Linked DNA regions of Homo sapiens: region 2 is linked to region 1. Evidence: promoter capture Hi-C in human tissues and cell types (Jung and others, 2019). All regions are on one chromosome and are shown on one strand. The core of a region is centred on a gene start or on the middle of the fragment in contact, and the rest is flanking DNA. Distances in the headings are between cores, read along the strand shown. Region 1 holds the start of ADCY9 (adenylate cyclase 9). Region 2 has its middle 12 kb from the start of TFAP4.

Region 1 (2,666 bases), core at 94-2,593:
CGGCGCTGGGTCTGCGGGAAGCAGCGCTCCAGGCAGGCCTCCTCCAGGTTCACCGAGTCGAACTTGGGGTCCCACCAGCGGCTGGAGGCCCTCTCGAACAGCTGGGGCAGCTTCTTCTGCCTGCGCAGCCGGCCTCCGCCGCCCACTCGCCGGGGGACGCCCCCGGAGTCCCCAGAGCTGCTGCAGCTAGAGGAGATGCTGTATTTGCAGTGCTTGGGGTGGCTGTTGGAGGACAGCTGCTTGGGGTTGATCTTGACGCGCACGCTGTTGCTGTCCCCGCTGGAGTCGCAGCTCACCTCGGTGCTGTGGTGATGCAGCAGCTGCTGGTGGGGTGGGGAAGCCATGTTGTCGAGTCCCGGGGCCTGCCCCGGCCGGGGTCACCAGTACCTGCCAGCAAAACGGGGAGAGTTAGCGGCGCTCCCACCTAGGCATGCACGCCTAGAGGCCCGGGACCTGCTCCTGTCCTAAGGGGCGGCTCCAGCACGCGACCTGGACAGGCACCATCTGTTCCTGTGGTTCCCGGCTCAGCGGTGCTCCCACCGCCCCCACCGCCCCCACCTTCGAGGCGCACGAGAACCGCTCGGGACGGACCTAGAACGCCCGGGGGTCCCCGCCGCGTGGCCGCCGTGGCTCCGGGACCGCTTTGCTCGCTCGCCTTCCGCGCCTCTCGCCCCGAGGGTGGCCTCCGCGCCGCGCGGCTTCTCCTCCTCGCGCGCTCGCCTCCTCCAGCTGCGGCTCCGGAGGGAAGTTCAGACCTTGAGCGCTCCCAGCCCCGCGAGCCGCCTGCGCACAAACAACTCCGCTGGCGGCGCGGAGCCCTCCATCCTGCAGGAGCCGCGCTCCGATGCGTCAAAGGCGGCGCGCGGCCGGCCCCGGGCCCGGACCCCGACCCGGAGCAGCGAGCTTCGGCGGGCGCCCCCGGCTCGCGCTCCCCGGCCGCCCCCCGCGCTCCGGGCCGGCCCTGCCCGCGGCGGCGGGCGCTGGGGGTGGGGGCGCCCCGGGCTGCGAGTGCGCGGAGCCCGTCGGCGCGGCCCGTCTAGTGGGGCCTGCTTCCCCCCGAGTGCGCCGCCGCTCCCGCCGCGGCCGCAGCTGTCCCGGGACCGAGCGCGTGGAACCACGGACGCGGGCCCCTCGCCGGGCGGCGGTGCAGACGCTGCCGCAGAGCCGGGCTCCCGCGACGCCGGCCGGGACGCCCGCCCGCCCGCGCCCACGCCGGGGGCCGCCTCCCCGAGCTAGAGATGCGGCCGCCGCCGCGCCCGCCGCCGTGTCCCCCGCGGCCGCTGCCTCATGTCGGAAGAGCTGCCGCCGCCACCATCTCCGGCCCCTGCCCCGCCCGCTGTCACTGACAGACGCGCGCCCGCGCCGCCCCTCGCCCAGCCGCAGCGCGCACGCGCGGCCCGCGCTCGCCGCCACCGCCTCCTGGCCCCGGACACGCGCACGGGCCGCGCGCCGCCCCGCCTTGGTGCGCGCGCTGGGCTGGGGCTGCGGGGCGGGGCGGGGCGGGGCGGGGCGCGCGCTCGGCTCCGCCCCCCGCCCCGGGCGGCGCCGCTTCTAGGCGGCGGGCTGTGGCCGCTGTCCGCGCTCCGGGCGCTGTGGGCCCGCCCTCCCTCGGCGTCCCAGAGGCCGCGCGCCGCCCGGGGTCCCGACCCTGCGGAGAGACCTGAAGGCGCCTGCCGTGGAAGAAGCCGCTGGCCGCAACGTTTGGGAAATCAAAATGTTGCCTTCCCACTCGGCACGCCTTTGGGATAAATCGAAGTTTCCAACCGTTGGATTTCCCTCCCGGGAGGCTCCCCTTGCTCTGTAAGCAATGAATGCGGGCCCCGGGGCACTCGGCCTGCCCTGGACCTGCTCACGGGGCGACCTTCACGGGCCTAGCCTCCAAAGCTGGGCCCACCGACGACCACGTTCCCCCGCCCCAGGGGTAGTTTACCTTGCTGTCCTTGAGCCCTTCTCCCCCTCCTCATGAACTACTGCTTTTCCTTTTACACAAATGAGACTTTCAAAGGAGTCCGCGTCCCATAATGGCAGTTGTGCATTGGCCTCCATAAACATTGCCACGTGTAAATAAAATCCTATTCTCTCTAGCATGCAGATCCCGACCCCTTCTCCCCACACTCCACAGTGCCTCCTGCCAGTCACGGGGCTCTCTTCCATCCCCTCCCTCGCCTCCCAGGCCCAGCGCCGGGGCCCACACCAGGTCTCACTGTTGAATTAGAAAATAAAAGTAAAATGTGATCTGTCCATGCAATGGAATATTATTCGGCTACAAAAAGGAATGGAGCACCGATGCATGCTGCAGTGTGGAGGAACCCGGGAAACGTTATGCTAGTGAAAGAAGCCAAACAAAAAAGGCCACATAGCGTATGATTCCATCCAGATGAAATGTCTCGAATTGGCAAATCCGTAGAGGCGACACAGATTGGAGGTTGCCAGGTGCTAGGGGAGGAAGATAAGCAGCTTGGGGTTTCGTTTTAGGATGATGAAAAAGTCTAGAAATGATCCAACAGGATGAATCTACATACTGCCCTTGAATCATACACTTTAAAGTGGTTTAGGCCGGGAGCGGTGGCTCACGCCTGTAATCCCAGCACTTTGGGAGGCCGAGGTGGGCGGATCACCTGAGGTCGGGAGTTCGAGACCAGCCTGACCAACACGGAGAAACCCCA
Region 2 (2,666 bases), core at 90-2,589, 170 kb after region 1:
GGCACAATCTCAGCTCACCGCAACCTCTGCCTCCTGGGTTCAAGTGATTCTCCTACCTCAGCCTCCCAAGTAGCTGGGATTACAGGTGCCCACCACCATGCCCAGCTAATTTTGTATTTTTAGTAGAGATGGGGTATCTTCATGTTGGTCAGCCTGGCCTCGAACTCCAGACCTCAGGTGATCCGCCCGCCTTGGCCTCCCAAAGTGCTGGGATTACACGCATGAGCCATCGCGCCCAGCCTGCCACTGCTCTTATTTTTAAGTGCCTGATCCATACCCTCAAGTGGGTCTGGGGGTTGCTGTGACTGCATCCTGTTGCCCTGGCCCCTTCTTCCTACCCTTCCTTCTCCTCTCCCCTCAAGCCCTCTAGCACCTCCTCCTTGCTTGTAGCTCACTTCCCGTTCCTCTGAGGGAAATGGAAGCAATTAGAAGAGACCTTCCACAGGCTGCCATGCCCGCCACTGCCTCCCTCTCTGTGCCTGGGAACTGCCATCGGCCAGTGTCTCTGGATGAGCATCCATGCTGTTCATGCACAGAAGACCCTTCTACTTGCACAACTCAGAGCCGTCACTCCAGAAACTGTCCTCTCTCCTTTGTCTTCAGTGCACACCGTCTTTTGGATCATACCCATTACTAACAAGCTGTTACTATTCTCCTTTCAAACCAACGGACTGACCCTAGATCCCCTTAGCTCTGCTCTCTTTTCTTGGTTTTGAGACAGTCTCACTCTGTCACCCAAGCTGGAGTGCAGTGGCATGATCTCCACTCACTTCAACCTCCACCTCCCAGGTTCAAGCCATTCTCTTGCCTCAGCCTCCTTTGTAGCTGGGACTACAGGTATGTGCCACCACGCCCAGCCCAGCTCTGGAATCTAACAGCAAAACTCCTTGAAATGGATGTTCACACTCACTCTCTCCCCTTCCCTCCTGCTCACTCCATCACACCCCCATGACTGCATGGGGGCAGTGACTCACTTCTGTAATCCTAGCACTTTGGGAGGTCAAAGCAGGAGGCAGGAGGATGGCTTGAGCCCAGGAGTTCCAGACCAGCCGGGCAACATAGCAAGACTTCATCTTTATAAATAATTAAAATATTAGCCAGGTGTGGTGATGCACATCTTTGGTCCCAGCTACTACTCTGGAGGCTGAGGAGGGAGGATCACTTGATTCTAAGAGGTTGAGGCTGCTTTGAGCCAAGAGTGCACCACTGCACTCCAGCCTAGACCGCAGAGTGAGACCCTGTCTCCAAAATAAAACACATATGGCTGGGCGCGGTGGCTCATGCCTGTAGTCCCAGCACTTTGGGAGGCCAAGGCAGGTGGATCACGAGGTCAGGAGTTCAAAACCAGCCTGGCCAAGATGGTGAAACCCCCATCTCTGCTAAAACTACAAAAATTAGCCAGGCGCAAGGGCAGGCACCTGTAATCCCAGCTACTCAGGAGGCTGAGGCAGGAGAATCGCTTGAACCTGGGCAACAGATCGCACCTGAGCCGAGATCGCACCACTGCACTCCAGCCTGGGCAACTGTGAGACTGTCTCAAAAATAAATAAATAAATAATAAAACACACACACACACACACACACACACACACACACACACACACACAAACCCTTCTCTTTTCAAAGTCACGAGGACCTCCAGGATGCTACATCTGGGTCTCTGTTTTCTGCCTTCACTGCATCTGACCTTCTTGAAATTCTTTTTTTGCTTTGCGTCTAGGACATGCCCACGGCACAGCCCTCAGACCTGTCTCTGTCTACACACACTCCCTGCTCTTCAGACAACAGACTTCCAGAAACCACTAGCAGCCACGAAGTGTGGTACAGAATCCAGGTCCTGCCTGAACCCCAACCCTACTAACCTGACTCTGCTCTCTCATCTGCAAAATGAAAGCCACACAGCATCTCCCTGGCAGGGCTGTTGTGAAAAGCTGGTGACAGCCTGGCATGTCACGGCATCAATGAGTGTTGGTTGCTGTCATCCCTGGCACCAAGTTGCCATGGGCGGCAGTGGCCAGAGGCGTCTGAGCTGACCTTGGAGAACGACAAGATTTCCTGATATGTAGGGAAGGTCGGAGGTGGGGCTCAGCCTTTCCCCTTCCCAGCTCTACGTGGCAGCAGGTGGGAGGCAGCAGGCATGCGCTGGGCTTTGCTGTTCACACAGGGTGCACCTGCTTCCCACTCGAAACACCCTCATGTGGTGGGGCAGTGAAAATTGGCAAACAAACCACTTGCCCTGTAAAAGGTGGGTCTCTTGGCCGGTCACAGTGGCTTATGTCTGAAGTCCTGGCTACTCAGGAGGCTGAGGCGGGAGGATTGCTTGAGCCTAGGAGTTAAGGCTGCAGTGAGTCGTGATCATGCCACTGCACTTCAACCTGAGCAACAGAGCAAGACCATGTCTCAAATAAATAAATAAATAAATAAATACAAATAAAAGGTGGGTCTCTGTAAAAAAAGAAAGTAATCAGCAGAGTGTGGTGGCACACATCTGTAATTTCAGCTACTCCAGAGGCTGAGACAGAAAAATCCCCCAAGTCCAGGATTGCAAAGGCAGCCTGGGCAACAGAGTGAAATACTTCAAAACAAAATAAAATAAAATAATTAAAAAAAAAAAAAGGGAAGGCCAGGGGCAGTGGCTCACGCTTGTAATCCCAGCACTGTGGGAG

What was found. Contacts are between HindIII fragments. The study calls those that stand out against the background at their distance.
Region 2: a contact is called between a fragment that was not itself captured here and the fragment with the promoter of ADCY9 in region 1, in 1 of the 25 tissues and cell types used here (IMR-90 fibroblasts).

Annotation. Positions count from the first base shown.
Region 1 is chr16:4,115,099-4,117,764 of GRCh38, forward strand. It overlaps ADCY9 (adenylate cyclase 9), which reads right to left and starts at 1,344. Exons shown (of 11, transcript NM_001116.4): 1 at 592-1,344; 2 at 1-387. The coding sequence starts at 344. RefSeq lists a silencer at 1,482-1,551. The HindIII fragment of the contact is 7,185 bases long and covers 1-2,666 here.
Region 2 is chr16:4,283,228-4,285,893 of GRCh38, forward strand. No RefSeq gene overlaps it. Among named protein-coding and RNA genes, the nearest start is that of TFAP4, 12 kb to the left of the region's middle. The HindIII fragment of the contact is 7,021 bases long and covers 1-2,666 here.